Linked DNA regions of Homo sapiens: regions 2, 3, 4, 5 and 6 are each linked to region 1. The links are contacts of gene promoters, found by promoter capture Hi-C in blood cells and fetal thymus (Javierre and others, 2016). All regions are on one chromosome and are shown on one strand. The core of a region is centred on a gene start or on the middle of the fragment in contact, and the rest is flanking DNA. Distances in the headings are between cores, read along the strand shown. Region 1 holds the start of ENDOD1 (endonuclease domain containing 1). Region 2 overlaps CEP57 (centrosomal protein 57). Region 3 overlaps CEP57 (centrosomal protein 57). Region 4 has its middle 48 kb from the start of FAM76B. Region 5 holds the start of LOC107984377 (a long non-coding RNA gene). Region 6 has its middle 110 kb from the start of FAM76B.

What was found. Contacts are between HindIII fragments. The CHiCAGO score rates a contact against its expected background, and 5 or more counts as called.
Region 2: a fragment that was not itself captured here is called in contact with the fragment with the promoter of ENDOD1 in region 1 in 1 of 17 cell types (total CD8 T cells); the score reaches 5.6 in total CD8 T cells.
Region 3: a contact is called between a fragment that was not itself captured here and the fragment with the promoter of ENDOD1 in region 1, in 10 of 17 cell types (total CD8 T cells, naive CD8 T cells, non-activated CD4 T cells and 7 more). The highest score is 7.9, in total CD8 T cells.
Region 4: a contact is called between a fragment that was not itself captured here and the fragment with the promoter of ENDOD1 in region 1, in 12 of 17 cell types (non-activated CD4 T cells, monocytes, total CD4 T cells and 9 more). The highest score is 9.0, in non-activated CD4 T cells.
Region 5: a contact is called between a fragment that was not itself captured here and the fragment with the promoter of ENDOD1 in region 1, in 7 of 17 cell types (monocytes, total CD8 T cells, neutrophils and 4 more). The highest score is 7.7, in monocytes.
Region 6: a fragment that was not itself captured here is called in contact with the fragment with the promoter of ENDOD1 in region 1 in 1 of 17 cell types (neutrophils); the score reaches 6.6 in neutrophils.

What each region holds. Positions count from the first base shown.
Region 1 is chr11:95,087,521-95,091,535 of GRCh38, reverse strand. It overlaps ENDOD1 (endonuclease domain containing 1), which reads right to left and starts at 1,690. Exons shown (of 2, transcript NM_015036.3): 1 at 1,309-1,690. The coding sequence starts at 1,608. RefSeq lists a silencer at 1,439-1,868 and enhancers at 1,879-1,938, 2,009-2,288. The HindIII fragment of the contact is 8,670 bases long and covers 743-4,015 here.
Region 2 is chr11:95,829,506-95,833,520 of GRCh38, reverse strand. It overlaps CEP57 (centrosomal protein 57), which reads right to left. Exons shown (of 11, transcript NM_014679.5): 11 at 828-2,495. The coding sequence ends at 2,265. MTMR2 (myotubularin related protein 2) reads left to right here. Exons shown (of 15, transcript NM_016156.6): 15 at 1-641. Among named protein-coding and RNA genes, the nearest start is that of CEP57, 41 kb to the right of the region's middle. The HindIII fragment of the contact is 4,048 bases long and covers 1-3,942 here.
Region 3 is chr11:95,798,863-95,802,877 of GRCh38, reverse strand. CEP57 (centrosomal protein 57) reads right to left here. Exons shown (of 11, transcript NM_014679.5): 2 at 3,490-3,646. Among named protein-coding and RNA genes, the nearest start is that of CEP57, 10 kb to the right of the region's middle. The HindIII fragment of the contact is 2,015 bases long and covers 1,006-3,020 here.
Region 4 is chr11:95,739,285-95,743,299 of GRCh38, reverse strand. No RefSeq gene overlaps it. Among named protein-coding and RNA genes, the nearest start is that of FAM76B, 48 kb to the left of the region's middle. The HindIII fragment of the contact is 8,213 bases long and covers 1-4,015 here.
Region 5 is chr11:95,695,385-95,699,399 of GRCh38, reverse strand. It overlaps LOC107984377 (a long non-coding RNA gene), which reads right to left and starts at 43. Exons shown (of 2, transcript XR_001748337.2): 1 at 1-43. The HindIII fragment of the contact is 4,092 bases long and covers 1-3,768 here.
Region 6 is chr11:95,675,980-95,679,994 of GRCh38, reverse strand. No RefSeq gene overlaps it. Among named protein-coding and RNA genes, the nearest start is that of FAM76B, 110 kb to the left of the region's middle. The HindIII fragment of the contact is 1,921 bases long and covers 894-2,814 here.

The DNA of each region.
Region 1 (4,015 bases), core at 441-2,940:
AGCTCTAGGGGTGCAGCTGGTGGAAAACTAATTTTGGATTTAAATGTGTCTTGTGTGTGCAACTGACAACGTCTTTTTCACATGCCTGATCTCGACAAGTGTTATCAACAGTTGAGGTAGGTGGAAGGATGTGAGGAAGATAAGAAAACTAGGTGCAGATTGTTTGAGACCTGGCCAAGACCTCAGAGCTAGAAATATCTGAATGAGATTACAACCCACAGGCTCTGAATAAAGCACCTGAAAGCCAGCCTCCTGTCCACTGGTGTGGTCCTGGGCAGCTGTGGCCGTCAGGAAAGGGAGAGCGTTGGGTCAGTTCTTCCCCCAGCAGCCTGGGCAGGGGTGGGAGGCTGGTGAGAGGGCAAAGGGGAGTCTGGCAGGGTGTTCTAGAGAGGAGGCCAACTGAGGAGAGGTATTAAGAGCAGGCCAGCAGGTTCGGAAGACTCTGAGGGCTTCTCAAGTGTTTGGTCACCTTTACCAGACGGGACAGAACACCATGAGAGGTGACACGATTTCCTAGTGGTATGATAATATAGATATGAGGAGTCAGGAAAAACTGGCTTATCTTTCCATCAGTTGGAGGTAGTCAATGTTTCCCTATCATTTTTAACTACCCCATTGCGTTTCTAAAAATCTGTATCTTTATTTCATTGTTCTAATTCAACACAACCGCAGATCGAATTTACTCAACGCCGTGGTAGAGGAAGGATTTTCAGGCTAGGATGAGCTCTGCAGAAGAGAAGCTTTACTTAGTAGAAAAGGCAGTGAATTTCTAGACAGAGACCTGCCCCATCTTACTAACTGGGTAGTCTTCCATATGTCTCTTCACCCCCTGGGTTTATCTCCTCTTCTGTAAAATGGGGATGAAAATGCCCACCTACCCACCTCCAAATGAGTGCTATGGCAATAAGTTGCACGAAGGCCTGTGAGCGCCCAGCCTAGGCTTTCTGCGGATCTGAACGGTCTCCAGGGTCTCTGTATCAAGCTCTTCACCATTCAGGAATGAAACACTGCGGATGTCTGCTCAGAAATGCAGGGAGAACCTCCTCCCACAGGGGACCTCCCGCCCTGCAGCTCATGAAGTGAAGGCTCGCAGATCGCCAGGCTCTTATTGTAGCTCGACAGGGGCGAGGCAGGCTAACTCCGGGGACGCAACAGGGTGGACCTGGAACCCGGGTTTCTTGGCCCAAGGCACCGAAGGCGTAGGGATTGCTGTTCCCGGCCCGCCCCTCGCGGTAGCTGCAACTGGGGGCATGTCCAGCGGCACGGTCTCCGGCGCCCGCAGCCCGGCTCGGGAACCACTTCGCTTACCTGCGGCTCCACCAGCCATCGCTGCTCGGCGCCGCCGGGCGCAGGGCGCGGGGCGCGGAACGCGGAGTACACGGGGATGCGGTCCCGGGTGCTGTAGAGGGTGGCGAAGCGCTCAGCACCCTCCGCGCGCTGACAGATCTTCACGTGGGAATCGGCCGCCAGCCCCGCAGGCGGGGTCCCGGCGTAGAAGAACTTGTCACATTCGCCAAAGCCGGCTTCCTCCTCGCCCACGAGCCGGCCTTCCAGCAGCCCAGCCAGGGCGAAGAGGCTGCCCAGCGCGAGCCAGCGCGCGGTGCCCATGGCGGCCTCTGCGAGCGCGGCGGGGCCGAGCGGCTGGGCTGCCGCGGCGCGAGCTCTGCAGGCTGGGCGGGGAGCGCACTACGCAGCCGAGCAGGGTAGGGAAGGGAAGTCGCAACCTAGGCGCGGCGCTCTGCGGAGCCGGGCGGGGCGGCCCGGGCGGCGGGGGCGGGTCCGCGTCGGGAGGCCGCGCCTCCCTCCCTGAAGATGGCTGCAGAGGCCCAGGGCCGCGCTCCGCGATGCTGACAACGTACCCTGGGCTGCGCCCGGGACTGGAGACGCGGGTCACCTGCCTCCGCGCCGCCTGGTCTCAGCAGTCCGGGGGACGCGCGCTACCAAGAGTGGAGAATCCGAGTGGGGCGGGCCTAGTCCCGGGGCTGGGAAGAGATAGTCGCATGGACTGGGCGCCAAGAAGCCTGCTGATCGCGCGCGCCCCACGGCCGCCCTGGTGATGCAGAGGGGTGGCGTGAGATGCTCGTGGAGCTGCGGCTGGTTCGGAGTGGATGGGCAGAGTTCCCCTCTGAAATTTCATGAAGATGCGTCTCCCACTCTCCACCGAAGTACTCAACGACCAGCACACGCATACAATTTTGATGGAGTTTTTTGTTTTTTGTTATGTTTTTTTAGCTCACCAGAAACTCAGAGAGTAAAGAAATACTGTTAAAGGAAGTTCCTAAACTAGGCAGACAGTATAACCCTGTGTGGTTTTCTTGGTGCAAGTGTTAGAAACAAAACCGATACCAAGCAAGGAAGGAGGCCAGCCAACGTCATTGGTCAACAGGTTGGCCAATTCTTTCCTTCATTTATCCCTCTGAATGCCTAGGTGCCAGCCTGAGATAGGCACTGGATTACCACAGGGGTAAACAAGAGCAGGGCTCCTGCGGTCACAAAGACAGCCTAGTGGGAAAGTTTGTCATTAACCGAGGAAACATGCTATTAAAGGGATAACTAAAAACTGAACACAGATCTGTGAGACCCTGACAGCTACAGGGGTTCAGGATGTAATCCGGGAAGGTTTGCCTGAAGAAGTGGCATCTGAGCTGAGACCTGGAGGATGACATTAACTAGGCAAGGAGGAAAACCATGTGCTAAGTGGTCTCCCACAGAAGGGAACATGATGTATTGGAGGAATTTAAGGAAGGCTAGTGTGGGTAAAGCGCGGAGAACCGCGTGGGGGATGATGGGAAGTGGGGCTAAAGGAGGAGGCAGGGGTCATATTACTCAGGTTATTATAGGCCAGAGGCCTTCAAACACTTTTTGAGAAGGCCCATAATGAGAAAAGTTTGATGAAATAATTCTTATGCTTATGATTGGCATTGCAATTTCATATTTCTGTTCTACTTCACTTTTTTAAAAAAGTGCTGGTGTTGACCCACTAAATTGTTTCTATGAGCCACTAATGGCTCATGACCTGCAGTTTGGAAAAAATATTGTAAATCATGTTGAGGATTTTCATCTTTTAAAGGTGGTGACTCGATTCTTTTTGCTATCAGGGAAGAGACTGGTAGATTGAAGTGGCACAGAATAAATGGGTGGCTCACACCTGTAACCCCAGCACTTTGGGAGGCTGAGGCAGGCGGATCACCTGAGGTCGGGAGTTTGAGACCAGCCTGGCCAACTTGGTGAAACCCGTCTCTACTAAAAACACAAAAAAATTAGCTGGGTGTGGTGGCGGGCACCTGTAATCCCAGCTGCTTGGGAGGCTGAGGCAGGAGAATCGCTTGAACCCAGGAGGCGGAGGTTGCAGTGAGCCAAAATTGTGCCACTGCATTCCAGCCTGGGCAACAGAGCCAGACTTTGTCTCAAAAAAGAAAAGGAAAAGAAAAGAAAAACACCCCATAATTGCCACAATCCAGATAAGAGATGGTAGCTTGGACCAGGATGGTAGGATGGTGGCAGCAGAGATAGGGTCAAGGCAGCTACCCAGGGCCAGGGCCTGTGCTCATCTTACGATGTCATCTGTTTCCCCAGTGTGCCACTACAGGGACTGAGACCAGAGCCTGTTGATTCTGGCCTAAGCTGGCACAGCCAGTGAGTCCTAAGACAGATTTGAAACAGGTCTCTCTGCTTCCCAAGCCTGGCCTTTTCTTTTAACTCACAGCGCATCTGTAAGGTGAGCCCATAAAGAAGGAAGCTCTTCAAGAGATTATACATTGGAACTTAAGAACAAATTTCTTACAGGTTTTAATTCCGGAAAATGTTGACTATGTTTGGTCCCAGAAATGAAACCAAAGTTTGTATCTTAGTTTTTTTAAAAAAAGGAGGGGACACATTTAGTGTGATGTCACAGAAGAGGCTAGACTTGAAGTCCCCTTTGATCTGGATGATGACCCTGATCATCTGGTACTAGTATCTCAGTCATCTCATCCTTGTAGGCTTCAATCAAGTCCTCCCACAGGGACAATGCTGC
Region 2 (4,015 bases), core at 669-3,168, 740 kb before region 1:
CACCTTCTGCAGAAGTCTCCAATATGGAGTACATGCACTTGGGCATTTAATATATACCACTGGTGTGTGTGGGAGGGAGGGAGGAGGAATACTAGCCCTTTTTATATATTTACACAAGCAAAACTTTTAAATATTTGAATTGACAGTTACATGTTTCATAACTTTGTATGTCTATTGGTTGTGCAGGTGTAATTTTTTCCCTTTTTGATTAGGGTTACAAAATTTAGAGACCAGTATGATTAAGTTGAAGCTCCTTAGCCTCCTTCGACCTAGTCTCTGCATACCTCAACTTTTACGTACCAATGCTACTCTGCTGTTCACAATTGCCTCATGTAATCTGCAGATTCCTGCCTCCCCACTTTGGTTCAGTCTGTCTTGTGCACCTGGAACAACTGTTCTCCCTTGTGACTAATTCCTATTTTCTAGAGTTTAGGCATCATCTCTTCCTTTGGGAAGTTATCTGATTCACGACTGCCTTCTCTGACATCCCCACCTTCCTCTGTGCCCCCATAGCACTGTGTATACCGCTACTACCACTGCAATTCACATTATATTGGAATGAACAATTCACATGTCTACCACAAGTCTGTAAACATAACCTTATTTGAAATGAATTGCAATAAAGCTCTGTTACAACGTAAGTGGATGGATGACACATTCCTCTACTGTAAACTTGCAGATAAGAAAATGGAAGCAGTATTTTTTCACTTCTCACCTGACAGTACAAAAAGCTGGAGTAGTTCAGTTTGAATCCTAGCTGAGAAAAGGGGTGGGATTTAGCATCATTCAATCACCATTCTCCTAATTAGGACTCAGAGCCACTACAATTCAAATGATGGTTATACAATTTAATGACCTGAAATTCAAACAAGGAGATAACAGGAGTTTTTAATAGCTGAAATGGTGGTTGACACATATATTTATCATGTCACCAGAGCACTGTTTCTCACTTCCCTTGTGTCTATGGGCTCACAATTATTAATTCAATCAAGCTACGAACCTACTCATTAGAAAACTGGACACAGAAGCACAAGTTTACAATTTCAGGAGAGTCACAAATAATACCCCAAAATCTTAAGGATCCTAAATTAAAGCCTGTTACTGTAGTATCTTGTATCATGAGGAAATCTAATATTCTTGGGCTCTCTTTCTATGTAAGCATGAGTGTGGCAACTAAGTACTAGTTTTTTCTCTTCATCAATACATTGATGTCCTCCTATTTAGAAATGCATTTTTTGAGAGCTTGTCACAAAGCCTTTATTAACAGGCTGTTAAGGAAAGTTGCAGTGTTTCCTTTAAAAAGGTGCTTTATTGACTTTAAATTTATAAAAGGTTAACATGTCTTGATCTAGTTGAAATTATGATTTATATCAACATGATAATTATGTGTACAGTTTATATTCCACTCATACTGTACACCAGTAAAAGCAAATATTCAAAGGGTTCTCTAAGTTTCAAGATTAAAAACCATAATGCCTTGACTGAATATCATGATTACAAAACAGGTATTAAGAACTGTGAAGGTATATGCTCACAACATATCCCTTCTCCCATTCTCACTTTATTCCAAAATCTCATTTATTTCACTGACAATTTGTTTATACTTTCAAAAATCCTTTTATAATTTTTATAGATATAACTCAAAATGACTGCTTGGGTCTTTAAAAAATTAACAGATTAAAAAGCAATACAAGTGCACTTAACACTGATCAAAGTCTGAAATGCCAAAAAGCAAAATAAAAATCCTCTGAAATATATATGTATTTTTAAATATAGAAAAACTCCACCAATAGTAGAAACAAAGTATGTTTAATGGTTGCTTTGGAAAGGGGAAGTGGGCACCTCATGCCAGGGAGATTTAAAAATGAGACTTTTCAAGCAAGCACTGCCTATAGCATAGTCTCATATTTTGAAAATTTAAACCTAATTTTAATTATATATAAAGAACTATTTTAAAAAATCACACCCACAAGTAAAAAACTGGTAATCTGTTTACAAAGTGCAGCGTCAGTACAGCAAACTCATCTCAACAAAAGATTATGTGTGGTTTCTCGGGCTTTAAAACTCCCCTGGTTTCCATTTAAATGCTTTAACATTGAGTCATCCTGCATACATGAAAAGCCTGTGTAATGAAGCCTGGGTCCTTTAACACCTGCTATTAATTAATTCCAACATAAGTGAGTATGAGACCTGGGAAGTAAATTGTCATCATCTGATTGATGAGGTACAGATTATCTGAATAAAATTTCTGACCTGGTTATGAGTCAGTAATCCCAACACAAACTACTGCTTTGTAATGAATTCTGTATGCTTTGCATGTCCTTCAATAACTGAAGATTTTTTCTCCTTTTTTCTCCAGGTCTCAGTTTCATAAAATCTTTCTTATTTGTGGTCCCTGTGATTCCAGAACGGCTGCTGCTGTTTCTTTCTTCATCAAGAGTCTTTTTGGTAGCTTTTAATTCCTTCTTCTGCTTCTCTAACTTCTGTTTCTCCAGCTATACCAAATAACCAAGGCAGGAAGGAAAAGGAGAATTTAATGAAAATATTTTTTTTCTGACAACAAAAAGTACAAGAGTACCTTTTTTTGGTTAACTCTCATGCTAACTGAAAAATAATACATTCTAGGCTTTCTTTTAAAGACTTCAAAATCTACTGCACTAGTCATTTAACACTTAAATATTAATATAAATAAATATATGCTTATATATATATAAAACAATACACAAACAAGTAGACATGAGTAAACAAATTCTGGTTGTCCTAAATTAAGGCAATATTGCCAAAGTACAGAACAGGGCGAGTGAGAAACAAGGGGAGTTGAAGGAAAGACTCATGAAGGAGGCAAAAAATCAGACACAGAGAAAAGAAGAATGGGAAGGATTTTCACAAATGGGAGAAGAGGAGAAAGATATTCTAGAAACTAGTCTGAGGAGGCAAAGAAGCAATTTCCAGATGGATGAACAGATGTAATTGGTAATGTATTAATACTATGAAAAGAATTTTATTTTTGTTCCATTATTTTTAGAATAATTTTAAATACGGGAGCTTTATTTTTACTTTAGCCAAACTGATGCTGGCATGTTGGTGTTCCAATAGAATAAGTCTAATTAGTATAAGCAACAAATTAGACCATTACTCCTTACTCCTACAGGAATAATTTGCTTGTATTTCTTTTTCATACATGAACTTTGAAAAAACAGCCAAAGTTTTAGAGTTGAAAAGGCTAGTTTCATCCCAGCTCTGCCATTTCCCAGTAAGCTGGTACTTGGGCAAGTTATTTAATTTCACTGAGGATATATGCATACTTCCCAGAAAATGTGGCTTAGCATCTACCTCATCTATAATATGAGAATATACCCACCTCAGAAGCCTTTTGTGAAAATTAAATGAGAAGATATACTCAGAGCACTTGGCACTGTGTGTCTATCATATGGCTACCAATCAACAGTCAACAAAACTGTTCTGCTCTCTGAACTTCTCAGCTTTCTCCATTTTAGTCAGTGGAATCACCATCCTAACTCCCTCTCCTTCTACATGATACCCAGCAGCAAGTAACCCCAATATTTTTTTTACTTCCAAAACATACCTCAAATCTGTTTACCTCTGCCCAAACCCAACTACTGTCTTGCTGACCACCTCTGATACATCTATAGCTGATCTCTCAGCCTCTCTGCCTTGATCCCATTACCCTACCCCTAGTCACTACAGTAATCTCTTAAATATATGAATCATGTTTCTCTCTGGTTGAAAACCCTTGAGTGTGATGTCACCACTGCATCTGGTAGTACTACATTGTTGGCTGATATAAAATGATTAGCAACATAAATATATTTCACATATTTAATGTATGACTTATTCCTTTGGAAACAGAATTTCGCAGGTGCTTTTAAAAAAACTTACTTGGATAAACTCCAATTTAAATTCATCAAAGAAGTTAAAGCTTATTCATAAAGAATATTAAATATATTCAGTATTTGAAAGATGTTTCTTAGATGAATATGCTAAGTGACTAAAA
Region 3 (4,015 bases), core at 764-3,263, 710 kb before region 1:
ACTCATATCCTTGATTACAGTGGTTCTCAAAATATGGGGCATAGGCACATTGAGGGCAGAGCTCATGAGGCCTTTCCCAGGGCCTGTGAGGTCAACACTATTTTCATAATACTATTAATAGTAAGACTTCACTTTTTTCACTGTGTTGAAGTTTGCCAATGATCATGCAAAAGCAATGTTGGGTAAAATTCCTAATTTTAGCTCAAATCAAGGTAGTAACACTAAACTACTATTTTAGGCATTGTATTCTTCACTGTCATAAATTCCCAGTAAGAAAAACTAAGCCACAATGTCCTTGATGAAGCAATAAAAATCATGTCAGGTTTGCCAGGCACGGTGGCTCACACCTGTAATCCCAGCACTTTGGGAGGCTGAGGTGGGCGGATCACGAGGTCAAGAGATCGAGACCATCCTGGCCAACATGGTTAAACCCTGTCTCTACTAAAAATACAAAAATTAGCCAGGTGTGGTGGCATGTGTCTGTAATCCCAGCTACTCAGGAGGCTGAGGCAGGAGAATTGCTTGAACCTGGGAGGCAGAGGTTGTAGTGAGCCAAGATCATGCCACCGCACTCCAGCCTGGGTGACAGAGTGAGACTGTCTCAAAAAAAAAAAAAAAAAAATCATGTCACGTTTATAAACCTTTCACATGCTGTACTCTTGTTGAACTTTTCTTCTTATAGAACTGTGCTCATTCTTTAAAACTCAGATTATCTATTATTTCGTTTTTCCTCTGAGAGGTTTTCCTCTCCTTTAACCTCCCCAACACACTTATCCCTATCCCCAACAAATGTCTTTTCTGAACTCTCTTGGTCTTTGTTCATATCTCACAGCCTTTATTTTTTTTCTGGGTGAGAAGGGGATAGTGATTTCTGTGTCTTTCCTTCCCATTTGGAAAGTAAGTATCGTTGGATTAAAACACTATAAAAGGATAATGGATTATAATAATTATCCTGGGACATTGCTTAAATAGTTCACCGCATCATGCTCTAAAGGCATAAAAGCTTAAAGGTTACTTTTTATCTTGTTTATTTCTCCTCTCCGTCTCCTCCCTGCTTGTCTCACTTCTCTTTTATTCCTTAAAACCACTGATGTTGCACTCAAGCAGAATTTAGCTCTATTAGTAACATGCTGTGCTAAAATTTTTCTGATTCTCGGTGAATAAATCTGCCTTCTTAATATTTCTTATTCTTTGCTAGTAATTTGTCATTTTTTTGAACTTTTTAAAAGTTTCCTTTCATGGGTGTAAAGATCAGAACTAGATACAATATTATAGTTGAAGGATTAATATCTAATTCTTAGATTTTGTGTTCCTGTTAGAACTTTGTAAATGGATATTTTGTTTTGTGCTTATTTTTGAATAAGAAACTTACTGCAACTGATTTTTGCTCTACTGTGGGCTTCAGTCATTTTTTTTTTTTTTTTTTTGCTTTTTAAAATCTATGTTGTTTGAATGTCATGCAACTTAATTTTCTTAAATTGCCAACCTGCTATACTCTGATGTGTAGAACCTTATCAGTTGCTTTAACCATTAATTAAAAATTTTCGTTATCATCGAGACACAGTATCTTATAATAAAGAGGCTTCTAGGTTAGTGATTACAGAGTACTAAAATTCTTAAAAGACATCACACTATTTAGTTACTTTTATTTCAGTAAACACTTTTCAGCACCCATTATAGGTTAGGATTTAAGCTGGTATTTGGATATCATTACCTACTTGGTATTTTACTGTACAATCAGTCCAGTTTACAAAACAGGTTCATTCTGAGATTTTTAGGATACTTACAATATATATCCCAACTGAAACAAAAAATGTTCCTCAACTAATTTACAAATGCCTGTTTAGCCTACGATGTCAAAAATATTTCTTTTACCTAGAGAATCATTAACACATAGAATTGTTGCAATATTAGTGATTAAACACAACTTTCAAAAAAAGGAAATGCCACAGCATCCCAAATAAAGCAAAGATATTTCATTTAAACTTCACACAAAGTATGAGGTAGGTGTATTTTAAAAGATACAGATGAAGAAACATCTAAAAGACGATTAACAAATTCAATATCAAAACCATCTTTTCATTATCTGAGTGGGCCCAATCTGATAACATAACCAGAAAATTTTCTCCCGCTGTGGTTAGAGAAATGTAACAACAGAACTCAGAGAGATTTGAAACATAAGAGACTTGGCCAGGCGCGGTAGCTCATGCCTGTAATCCCAGCACTTTGGGAGGCCAAGGCGGGTGGATCACGAGGTCCAGAGATTGAGACCATCTGGGCCAACATGGTGAAACCTCGTCCCTACTAAAAATACAAAAACTAGCTGGGCGCGTCTGTAGTCCCAGCTACTCAGGAGGCTGAGGCAAGAGAATAGCAATAGCTTGAATCCAGGAGGCGGAGGTTGCAGTGAGCCGGGATCCCGCCACTGCACTCCAGCCTGGTGACAGAGTGAGACTCTGTCTCCAAAAAAACAATAAAAAATAAAAAAAAAAAAGAAACATGAGAGACTACCTACTGTTACCGTAGGAGACAATAAGGGAAACATGAAGGAAGGAGGACAGTTTCTAGGAGCAAAGACTGTCCTCAAGTAAAAGTCTGCAAAGCAACAGAATCTCAGTACTGCAATGACAAGGAACTGAATTTGGCTAAGAATCTTAATGAGCTTGGAAGCAGATCTTCCCCAGAGCCTCTAGTAAAGAACAGAGCCCCAAGCAAAGCCTTGATTTCAGCCTTGTAAGGCTCTAAACAGAGGACCCAGATAAGCCTACACAGATTTCCGACCTACAGAAAACTGAGATAACAAATATTTAAAGCTAAGTTCATGGCAATTTGTTAAGGCGACAAGAAAACTAATACAGATGGCAGGTTCCAGGAATAAATGTATTTCAAAGTAGCCAGAGCAAAGGATGGGAAAGGAAAAAACAGAAGACAAGTTAGGGATGAAGCTGGTGAGGCATATAGGGTCTAGGTTATGAAAAATTAAGAATTTATTATGTAAGCTATGAAGAGATGCTAAAGCTTTAATTTTGTGGGAGAGATGATGGATAATGACAAATGACAGAAATGTTGTTAACTGGGGATGAGGAGGAGAAAACAGGCAGGGAGATTAATGAGGAATGTACTATGAACATCTGGGCTACAGATGATGAAAGCCTGAACCAAAGCAATGAGAACACAAAAAGGCAGAAAAAACAGTATGCTTTTGGTATATTTCAGAAGCAAAAAAAGGTCTTCATTCCGGACTAATAGTGGGGATTACAGAGCAGTCACTGATGACTCAAAGTGTTTTAGCATCAGTAATTTGGTGGATGATGATGTTCAACAATCAATATAAGGAATACAAGAAAAGCATAATATTTTCTGGGGGCTGAAACTGGAAGCAAAGGGGAAATATATTTTCCTCTAATGGCAAAATAATGGAGGACAAAGTTAAGAATTTTAAAGCAGCAAGAAAACACAAATAACATTTATTTCGTTAGGCTCGATTACCTCTGCTGTTGCTTTCTGGATAGGCAAGTGTAGGCTTACTTGGGGAGCGTCGTAGATCACTATTAAGGAAAGGCTTATCCGAAGGATATACTACATATGGAGATGAAGAATGCCGAACCATGCTTCCATTAGACCTTGATGGCTCAGCAAAGCTGTTCTAAAAAATAAAGACACAAATTACCTTTCAAAAGTGTGAACCACAAATAGCAGATTTAAATCACAAATATTTATGACTGAGATTGACTGTCCATACAGACAACAGAAAAAATCCACTGACTAGAAACAATACAATTCAATCATTAAAGAAATACAACTTTTAAAGTGTTTCATATTAGTCTGAATATAGCCATATGCCAGACACAAGAAGAAAATAATGTTCATACAACTTGAATACAAATGCTGTGCAGAAATACTTAAATGATACAATGAATGTAAATACCGCAGTTAAAAATATATACTGTGAAATATACGTTCAGAAAAATAAAAACATTATTTTTACAGGACCAGAAACTGCTACAAATGACTG
Region 4 (4,015 bases), core at 667-3,166, 650 kb before region 1:
GTGTGCTTTTGTGTAGAATTGCCTTTCACGCAGTATTTTCCACAAATGATGCTAGAACAACTGGGTTATCCATTAAAAAAAATGAACACCACACACACCTTACTTCATACTCTTTTTACATAGTAATTTGACATGGCTTATAGGCCTAAACATAATGCTAAACTTATGACATTTTTTGAAGAAAAATATCAGAAAATATTTGTGACTTTGCGTTGGCATGGATGTTTTAGGCACAGAGAAAGCATGGAATATGAAGAAAAAATGGAAAAATAGAACGTTATCATAATTAAAATATTCTGCTCATAAGACCATTAAGAGAATGGAAAGGCAAATACAAACTGGGAGAAAATATTTTCAAAGTATATCTGACAAAGGATTTGTATATAAACATAAAAGAACCTTAGGATTCAATGAGAAGATAAAAAAATCCCAAGTAGAAAATGGGCAAAAGATTTCAACAGATTCACCATGAAAGAAGATATGCAAATGGCCAATAAGCACATGAAAAGATGCTGAACATCACTAATCATCAGGGAGTGCAAATTAAAACACAATGAGGGCCTGGCGCGGTGGCTCACGCCTGTAATCCCAGCACTTTGGGAGGCCGAGGCGGGCGGATCACGAGGTCAGGAGATCGAGAACATACTGGCTAACACGGTGAAACCCCGTCTCTACTAAAAATACAAAAAAATTAGCTGGGCATGGTAGCGGGCGCCTGTAGTCCCAGCTACTCGGGAGGCTGAGGTGGGAGAACGGCGTGAATTCAGGAGGCGGAGCTTGCAGTGAGCCAAGATCGCGCCACTGCACTCCAGCCTGGGCGACAGAGCAAGACTCCGTCTCAAAAAAAAAAAAAAAAAAAAAACCACAATGAGATACAATCACGGATTCACTAGAATTACTAAAATTAAAGAGATTGACAATACGAAGTATTTACAAAATGTGGAGCTACTGTAACTCATAAATTAGTTATGAGAATATAAAATGATAGAACACTTTGGAAAACAGTCTGGCATATTCTTATAAAGTTAAAATACAATTATCATAGGACCAGCAATGCTGTTTAGGAATCTACACAGGAGAAAGAGAGCATATGTCCACATAAAAAATTTTACATGAATGTTCATAGCAGCTTTATTCATAACAGCCAAAAAAAAAAAAAAAAAAGCAAACAACTCAAATGTCTATGACTAGGTTGATAAATAAACAAATTATAGTATATTCACACACTGGATTACTACTTAGCAATAAAAAAGAGCAAAGTACTTAAACATGTAACACATAAATGACTCAAAAATAAACTGAATGAAAGAAAATACACAAAAGCAAACGTACGAAATTTTAGCAAAGACAAAAACTCAACTAAAGTGACAGATAAGTGGTTGCTTGGGGACTAGGGTGGCGATAATTTGCTACCAAGGGGACAAGGGAACTTTTTGGGATGATGGAAATGTATTGATGACTGTGGTAGTTATAGAGGTTATACATTTGTCAAATCTCATTCACATATAAATATAAGAAATAGGTGCACTTTATTGTGTATAATTCATACCTTAAGTTGATTTGAAAGACCACGACAATGCATGACTCCCTGACAGGACCGCTGGTCAGCTAGCAGCAACCATTTTACTAGTCATATAAGTTTATGTTACACTGATTCACTATTTAGGTTAGGAGGAGAATATAGCTCCTTTGGTACAGCGATGGGGGCTTTGCCTGGCTAGAATTTATCATGCCCTTTGAGCAGTGGGTGATGTGATGAGATATCCCCAGGATGAAGAAAAGGGAAGGCAAAAGTGCAAAAGTCTGTCATATGGTAACTAATATTCTTGACCAGACAACACTTCTATAGGTCCCAGAGAAATCTGAGTAGAGGGAAAGGCCAGACAAATATATGCTATCCCTTGTCAGGATTTTAGCTCCTCATGCTGCATTTACATTGTGAGAAGTGAGTTTTAAGAGATACCAAAAGGGAACAAAGCATTAAGAAAGAACAATTTAGGCTGGGTGCAGTGGCTCATGCCTGTAATCCCAGTACTTTGGGAGGCCGAGGCAGGCAGGTCACCTGAGGTCGCGAGTTCGAGACCAGCCTGAGCAACATGGTGAAACCCCATCTCTACTAAAAACACAAAAGTTAGCCGGGTGTGGTGGTGCATGCCTGTAGTCCCAGCTACTTGGGAGGCTGAGGCAGGAGAATCGCTTGAACCTGGGAGGCAGAGGTTGCAGTGAGCCGAGATCATGCCATTGCACTCCAGCGTGGGCAACAAAGGCGAAGCTCTGTCTCAAAAAAAAAAAAAAAAAAAAAAGAAAGAAAGAAAGAAAGAACAATTTTCATGGGAGCAAGGGTGCATAAACTCCTTAGTGTTCTACTCCCAACCTTTCAACAGTAATAGCCCAGGCTTATATTGTGTTCATTGTGTACTACACATTTCTTTCATATATATATATATATATATATATATATATATATAGTATATGTCATATATAAAGACACATGCTGCATACAGATATTTGTGTGTGTGCACACACATATATATTTTATATATATAGTTATGCATCATTTAATGATGAAAATGTCCTTTGAGAAATGGATTATTAGGCACATTTATCATTATGTGAATATCATAGAGTGTACTTACACAAACCTAGATAGTAATAGCCTACTGCACATCTAGGCTATATGGTGGTCCAGCCTATTGTTGCTGCTTGGCTACAAACCTGTACAGCATGCTGCTAAACTGAATGCTGTAGGCAATTGTAACATAATGGTAAGTATTTGTGTATCTAGACATACCTAAACATAGAAAAAATACAGTAAAAATACAGCGCAAGAGATAAAATAATGGTATATCTGTATAGGGCAGCTCCATTATAATCTTGTGGGACCATAATTGCATATGCAGTCTGTTGTTGGCAGAAGCATTGTTATGTGATGCATAGCTGCATATAATTTATTCCTATCTCATGACAACCTTGATTATCACTCCTATCTGACAGTTTGGTCATTGAGACACAGAAAGAATAACTAGCTTGCCCAAAGTCACACAGCTACTAAGAGACAGACCTAAGATTTAAACCTGTAGATTATGGTGCTTTCCACAATTCTGCCAGTTGTGCTCTTAAGGTATCAGCACTTCAGAACGATTCCCCTCACAGGTAGAATCAAGCAAAGAGAGACTTCACCTCCCAGTTCAGATTGAGAAATATAAAAAAGAACCCCATCCTTTATGTATGTACATATGTATGGTGAGTGTATTTGCTGAAGGTAACTGCCTACTATCACTTATTTGATTTTTCATTTAACAAATATTTGTTAAATGTGTGACTTCCAGGTATCTGATATTATGCCAATCATTGGGGATTCAGAAATAAATACATTGTAATCCCCAGTTTCAAAGGACTGGAAATTCCTCCAGGATGACTGTGAAAGGCACATAGTGCAGAGGAGAGTTAGAACACTGACCACACTAGCTATAGGCTGGATATTTAGGCCATACAATATCCATCTACATTCTCAGGAGACTGTCTGCACTTGACTCACTGAAGGTCACACCTGGGCATCCCTGGGGATCCTCTTATCTTTACCATTAAGCAATGTGAAGCCATAAAATGATTAGGGTTGGCAGGCTTTTAGAGGATTAATGTTCTAACAAATTGGGTGATTTTGCTCAGCTTAGCTATTGAGGATAACATATTGTGAATTTACTGAGCTCATCTGTGACCAGATTCCTCTGCAGGGTAATTGAAAGTGAGTGGAAATGGCTATTTATGTATTCTCAGCCATTAGATGTTGCTTTCATCTCTGATTTCTTTGGATGATGAGTCAAAATATATACTGAGATCATTGCCTGTGGGTTCCACTTTGCATGTTCAATTAACTAAGGCCTGTGCTTAGTACTGGACATTAAAAGACAGATGGTGAAGGGAAGCTGGACTCAGACTTCAGAAGTGACCCACCAGCCAAATGGGGGTATATTTCTGAATTGCATCTTCCTTTAGGGCTTGATGGCCACTAGGG
Region 5 (4,015 bases), core at 473-2,972, 610 kb before region 1:
ACATCATGGCTGAGGCAAACAGAAATGCATGAGTAAAGGGATGTGCTGTTCAAATGGGCAGAGATGAGCAGCCTACCCTTGTGATCTTTCATACAGAAGGACTTCTGTTTGTAAAAGGCAGGGAAGGAGAGCTTGCTGAAGAAGCTGCCCTCAACAACAATATTTTTGGATTCTTACATGCTGATCTTTTAAGAAGTAGCTGAATTTCCTCATGAAACACTGTGTTTTTTCTCGTCTTCAAATGACTCAATCTGGCGTGCTGGAAATTTCAGTTTGTGGCCCAGCTTTCCTGCAGAATAGCTACATGGTCTTGCACAAGGTTTGCAATCCATGGAGAAGATAAGACAATGGGTATAAAATGTTAAGTCCTAGATGAATGAAAATAATAATTATTATGTAAGGAGTATCCCAAATCCATTTTCCTTCCTAAGGAGAAGACTTAAATTAGCCCTGTCCAAAAAAGAAATTCTTGCTAATTTTCTTTTTATCTCCAATCACCAGCATCCCGACCACAGGTCTTAACCTAGCATAGTATCCTTCCTCTTTCTTTGTTTCTTCCTGTAGAGTGTGAATACTACTTTTAATCTTATGTAGGTATTATTCGATGATTATTATTCTACTCTTTCTGTTCTCTACATATTGATCCTGCAAATATTGGCTGTTTCAGAGAGTGGAAATCTCTCAAGGGCATGGAATCATAAAAGTGAAACACAACTAGGTGTTGACTAATACTTTGTGTTAACTTGAAGACAAGGTTGATGATGATAATGATGATCTTTTTCACAGTTTACTAAAAGTAAGGGAAGTGGTAAATTTATTCCCAAACATCCCTCAGAGAAAGATCCTAAGATGTATGCAAAAATCATGGAGAGAGAAAAAAATAATGAAGAAAAGGAAGAATGACCTAGTCTTGTCCTTTTACATGTATAGAGAGCATTTCCACTTCTACATTTCATCATTATGTGAAATTCAACATGTCTTAAACCAAACTCTCTTTTCTCCCTCAAAGCAGCTCTCCTGATTAGCGTCCCCATTTCAGGTTTATTCTCATAGCTTCCTAAGCTCAAAACCCCTGAGTCATTTATTACTGCTGCCTCTTCCACGCACTCATACCCAATCAGTAATCAAGTTCGTTGTTTCTGCCTTCAAAATAATTTTCATATTTTTCCCCTTCAGTTGCCATGGATACCGTAAAATTTCCCTTTTTGCTTCATGCCTGGACAACTGTGGTAACTTCCCGAGTCTCTCGGCTCCAATCTGCCTTGCAGACAGCTGCTGCTGGAATAATTTCTTTTGCCATGTCATACCCCTGCCCAGAACCCTGCAGTGGCTCCTCACTGTTCTTACTTAAAACCCAAATCCTTTAAAGAAATTTGCATGGCCTTCTATAATCTGACCATATTTAAAGAATCCCTGCTAATTTACACGATGACTTTGTGCAAAATTGAGAAGTCACCCCCTCTGGGCATAGGAAGCCTTGCGATTTAAGGCTCAGCTAAAGAATCAAGCCTTTTTGCATTCTAAAAGGTGGTCTCATCCTTAGGGTGTACCCTGTCCTGCTGTAGAGTACACAGGGCCCTTAGAGAGCAGGGCAAAGGCTGTTTTTCAGCCTCCAACCACTCAGAGGTCCTAGGAGTAACCCTCACGGCCATAGGCAGGCCCTGCAGCCTTCCTGTTCAACCTGATTTCTTTTTGCATGGAAGCTCAATCCTTCTCTCGGACAACTTTGCTTTCCCTGAACAAGCTGTACTTAAGTTTACCAGAGTCCCTTGACTCATGTTTTTTGCATTTCTTGAAATACACTTCTGTTTCTTCATAGCTGGATAATTCTTGCTTGCCCTTCAAAGTTCACCTCCAATGTTACTCCTGTGGGAAGCCTTTTCTAACTCCATCGTCTGAAAAAAAATGACCTTCTTAGTTCCTATAGCAGTGTGCATACTCAGTTGTAGTACAGAGGAGTCAAATTTGATAACCTACGATGCAGATGGGCCAGAGTATGTACTTTTCAAATTTTGGGTGGCTGATTTTATGTGGCTCTGGATTTTAAGGTAACTCTGTGTGTTTTGGATAAATAATCTGACACTTCAAATGTTCTAACTGCCCTCTCTAGGGAGTAGATAGAGTCTGGAAGCAAGGGAAGGTTTGCGTGAATTAATGGTATCCAGGAAGCAGGGGAGAGGTGGGCAATTTATGTGCTGTCCTTCTTTGCTTGCTTCTGGGGCTCTAGTTAAGCTCATCCCACCTGGTCTTTGGGAGTCAGCCTCTATTTACATTAAAGCTGCTACTGAGCAGCGTATGGCTGTTGTAACTCCACTCAGGTTGTATTCTTCCAGGATGGGTGAGGCATGATGATGGCTCTTGTGATATGATTACACACACACACACACACACACACACACACACACACACACACACACACACACACACAGGTTTTCATATACAGTTCCTAGCTCAGAAACCTCATAATCTTTGTTATATTCTTTTGTCACAATGTTGGGGTACTTTAGGCCTTAGGAACAGGCCTCAGAAAATGGAATCTCTCTCTCTGACCTTCTCCTGCCTTCTTTTCACCTGCCCAAGGCAGGACTCTCATCTGATTGTGGGTCATGAGAACCTCATTCCAGAGTGGGTTCTACCCCATACTCCGCAGGAAGGAATGCTGCACAGAGAGATCCAGAAAACCCTGAGCAGGCAGGCCTTGCTGGGTTTATTCAGGTCATATCCTTTCTGTACAGTCACATTGTGACACAGTTGTCCATGCTTCCAGACCTTCCCTATGTATCTCTTCATTTGGCTGTTTATTTGTATTCTTTAAAATATCCTTCATAACATACCAGTAAATATGTTTCTGTAAGTTCTATGAGCTGCTCTAATAAATAAATCAAACCCAAAGATAGGGTCATGGGAACCCCAACTTGAAGCTGATCGGTCAGGAGTTCTGGAGGCCTGGACTTGAGGCTGGTGGGAGAAGGGGGCAGACTTGTAGGACTGAGCCCTCCATATGTGATATCTGTTGCTGTTTCTGGGTACATAATGTTAGAACTGATTGGAGGATACCCGGGGAAAAACCCCCACACTTTGGTCACAGAAGTCTTCTTCTGTGTTGATGATTGTTGTTGTGGTATGAGGGCAGAGGAAAACATGGTTTGCGTGTTGCTCTGAAACAGTATCCAAAGTGTTTGGCCATCACCTCTTGTTGATCAGGCCCCACGCTGGCTCTCGCGGTGCTTCAGATTCCCAGTGACTCCATTCCATCCCCAGCTTGGCCCATCGTTGCCTTGAGTAAGTTCACCAGCCAGCACTCATGGTCCACATTCCCGGAGGCATTCAGGAGCTTCTGGACTCCTTCCACATCATATGAGCACCATGGGAGTCAGTTGTCCCATAGCAGGCCTGTCTCTGTGGACACTTCCCTTTGTTGTTCTACCACTCCAAGGCCAGCTTGGATAGCCTAGGAAAGCAGGGCACTAGCATGGAAAAAATGCTTGTGGGTTCTGTCTCAATGTGCCTGGAGTTTTGTGGCAATTTCTGCTGCTGCAAAACCCTCCAGTCTCTATATACCTGGCCCCTGTGCTGGGGATAAACTCAGGGACTCATGATCATCTTCTCCCTTGTCTAGTCTTCTGTAGCTCTCCCTGTCTGATTTCTATCCCTCAAGTCAGAGGTCCTTTCCACTTTATTTTTACTCCTTGGATAGATGGCAACTTCCCTTAAATCATAATCCTTAAATTTCTCTAAAGAAAAATTTTTGTCTTTATTATCTAAGCTTTACTTGAAACTCAGACAATTTGGAGGTTTATCTTTACTATCTAAGGTTCACTTAGACAGTAAAGATAAGAGCTTTACAACATAGTAATATAATATAATATAATATAAGCTTTACTATCTAAAGGTTATAGTAAAATCATATGTTTCAAATTTCAAGTTTTGCTCCTGATATGGAAAGAGAAGTTGTTTACCTTTAGAAGTACCTTGATTTCTGAGAAAACCCTGGTTTTCATGACCACAGCTTTGC
Region 6 (4,015 bases), core at 605-3,104, 590 kb before region 1:
ACTCAGTCTGATAAATAGGATACATTTTTTTGTGGGGGAAAATTTCCTAATTATATATGTTTACAATTTATAGTAAATATAATAATCAGGCATACCTTATTGCTGTTGCTTAATCATACCATTTATACAGTACTTCCACATTTTTTTTCCATGCTCCTAGTGCCAATATCCTAAAGTCAGCAGAATAGCTACTTTATATGCTCATGTTACAAATGGAAGTCTGTGGCTCAGAAGGATTACTGACTGGTGCTAGTGACCAGAGTGTGGCATGAGGGGGAGAAGATATGTCTTATCCATATTGATCTAATGGTATTGATTTGAATACCTACAAAATGGTTCATAAAGGAGTTTTAAAATTTAACTTCCTAAAGAATTGACTCACACAATTGTGGAGGCTGGGAAATCCAAAATCTGCAGGGTAGGCCAGCCAGCTGGTGACCGAGGGAAAAGCTGATGTTGCAGCTCAAGTCCGAGGGTGGTTGGGGCAGAATTCCCTCTTCCTTTGGGATCTCTGTCTGTTTATTCTTAAGGCCATCAACTGATCAGATGAGGCCCATTCATGTTATAGAAGGTAATCGGCCTTACTCAAAGTTTACTGATTTAAATGTGTAATTGACTTAAATCTCATCTAAAAGTAGCTTAACGAAAAGCATTTAGACTTGTGTTTGACCAAATGTCTGAGTACAATGGCCTAGGCAAGTTGACACGTAAAATTAACCATCACGTCAAGTAACTGATGTTCATGAGTGACACACTCCCTCAAACTAGACCGAGTGAGTGTTGTGTCTCCTGAGGGCCAAAGTCCTCTTTGCTGTTTCCCAGTAAAGAACCAAGAATGGTGAGGAAATAATGCCAACAGTGAACAGGATAGAGAGAGGCTTATTCTAAAAGCTTGAGTCAGAGTGGTCTAGAATGAGATATTTTATTTTAAGGAGACCAGATATTGTCTAGTAAGGTTGATGGTTACCACCCAGCTTCAAAAACTATCAGAGCTGGGGTGGACCCTATAGTTTTCTAGCTCTGCCCCTTCTACAGAAAGATGAAGTGAAGGGACTGAGGCCCAAGCCAAAGGCCTTCTTTAAAGAAAGACTGAGGGAAGTCAAGTCCTCTGAGTCCTTGTCCAATGCCACTGATTTTAAAATACTGAATTCCATGGGACTCTTCAGTGACATTCTGGGGCTGGCCATTCACTGGTGATATAACGCAGTCAGGCAGATCTTAATGGAAGGGGAGTCATTAGAGGATCTGGCTAATTGACTATTTGAATTAACAATGTCTTCAGTTGGAAAACTAATGAGAAACAAGGGGTGTTGGAAAAGGGTCTGGCTGAGCTTTATTTTGTGTACAGACTAAAATGAGGTTTTCCCTAAATGACTATTTTCTTTACCAGAATCACTGTTCACATGGCAATCTAAAAATTTCTAAATATTAGCTAAACTAAGATGTTAATAGTTGAGAAATTAGGAAAAGTGTGATAAAAGCCTATATATAATTTTTAGGGCTGAGAAAATTATTTAGAAACCACTGTAAACAAGTGTTTTTGAGTCTGTATATAAGATTACTGAGTTATTCAACTCTATTTCATGCCACATAGCAACACTGGTCTTTTTTTCCCTATATATTTATTGATCATTTATGTTTCTTTCATGTGACTTTCTTACTTATGGCTTTTCTTAAAAAAAACTAAGAAGTAAAAATTGTACATTTTTATGGCATACAATGTGATATGTGTGTGTGGGTGTATATGTATATTTATATGTATGTATATACACACCCATGCACACATTGTGGAAAGATTAAATCAGCCATTTATCATACGCATGATACCTCACATACTTATCTTTTTTGTTTGGTGAGAGCACTTAAACTCTACTGTACTAGCAATTTTCAAGTACACTGCATATTGCTGTTAACTACAGTCATCATGATGTACAATATATCTCTTGAACTTATTCCCCCTAACTGAAATTTTGTGTTCTTTGACCAGCATCTCCCCAGTCCCCCACCTTATGGCCTCTGATAACCACAATTTTCTCTCTGTTTCCATGAGAGTGACTTTTTAAGATTCCACATATAAGTAAGATCATGCAGTATTTTTGTCTTTTTATGCCTGGTTTATTTCACTTTTTAATGTCCACCAGATTCATCCATGTTGTCACAAATGACAGAATTTCTTTGTTTTTTAAGGCTATTATTCCACTGTGTACATATACCACATTTTCTTTATCCGTTCATCTGTTGATGGACACTTAGGTTGATTCCATATCTTGGCTATTGTGAATAGTGCTGTGATAAACACGGGAGTGCTGATAGTACTTCAAGACATTGATTTAATATCCTTTGAATATATACCCAGAAGTGAGATTGCTGGATCATATGGTAGTTCTATTCTTAATTTTTTGGGGAATCTCCATATCATTTTCCATAATAGTTGTACTAATTTACATTCTCACCAACAGTGTACAAGAGGTTCCTTTTCTCTACATCATCACCAACACTTGTTATCTTTTGTCTTTTTGACAGCAGCCATTATAACAGGTGTGAAATAACATACCTTTGTGGTTTTAATTTGCATTTCCCTGATGATTAGTGATGTTGAACATATTTTCACATACTTGTTGGCCCTTTGCATGTCTTCTTTTGAGAAATGTCTATTCAGGTCCTTTGCCCATTTTTAATTGGGTTTTTTTTTACTATTGAGTTGTAAGATATATTTCTTATATATTGTGAATATTAACCCCTTATCAGATGTATGATTTGCAAATATACTTTTGTATTTTGTTGGTTGTATCTTCACTGTGTTGAGCAGAAGCTTTTTAGTTTGATGCAATCCCCTTTGTCTAATTTTGCTTTTATTGCCTGGGCTTTTGGGGTGAAATCCAAAAAAATCATCCCCCAGACCAAGATCATGGAGCTTTTTCTCTGTTGCCTTCTAGCAGTTTACACCTTCAGGTCTTACATTTAAGTCTTTCATTCATTTTCAGTTGATTTTTGTAGATAGTGTGAGTTAAGAGTCTAATTTTATTCTTCTGCACGTGGATATCCACGTTTCTCTGCACCATTTATTGAAGAGACTGTCCTTTCCTTATGGTGTGTTTTCGGCATCTTTGTTGAAAATATTCAATTTCTTGAGCATTAAACTCTCTCCTATCTCAAGGCCTCTGTAAACTCTTCCTTCCTTGCCTAGAATCCACTCTGGCTCCTTCTCATTCTCTAGGACTTAGGTTAAATGCCATCTCCATCCTATCTAAATTAGGCCCCAAGTTGTTATTCTCTTTCACACCACCTGTTCTGTTTCCTTCATGGATCTTATCACAATTTGTAATTATATGTCTGTTGGTTGTCTGTCCCCTTGCACCCGACAGTAAGTTCCCTGAGAACAGGAACTTCATTAGGCAGGGAAAAGATGACACACGATCGAAGGACACTTTGAGCATGGCTTAATTTTAGGGGAAGTTACACTGGTCGGGGCAAGATATAGAAACACCCACAGGGGATGATTCAGTACCTTAGAACTAGTAAGAGTGGGGCCATTGCCACCCTAGGTCTCTAGGGGTAACACAAGAAGGCAGTCACTGGATCTGGAGGGAGAAATTCATGTGCAGAGGAGCATCCTGGGCAGAGCAGCCCCTTTTGAGAGATGTGTCATGGTTGGCTAGCAGAGTTGGCTGTAGATCAGCCAACCAAGCTGACTCCACGGAGAGGGGGCCGGGTTCACAGATACCCTTACTTCATTTTCCTTTATCCTTCCTAATTTCTACTGGGAACCTGAGGGCAAGGAAACCCACTGATGTCATCTGGCAGAGAGGAGGGTGAGAAAGGTGGAGAGAGGACATGAAAGACGTCTAGTACAAGAATCATGCCTATTAATTCACCTTTACCCCCAGTGTTGAGCACAGGGCACTGTTTATCATTCTTTATCTGCATTTATTCATAAATGCTAATAGATGAAAAATAAAACAAATTTGTTTCCTAGTGTCTGTTTTATTACACGTTCCTTCTCCAATTCTCATTA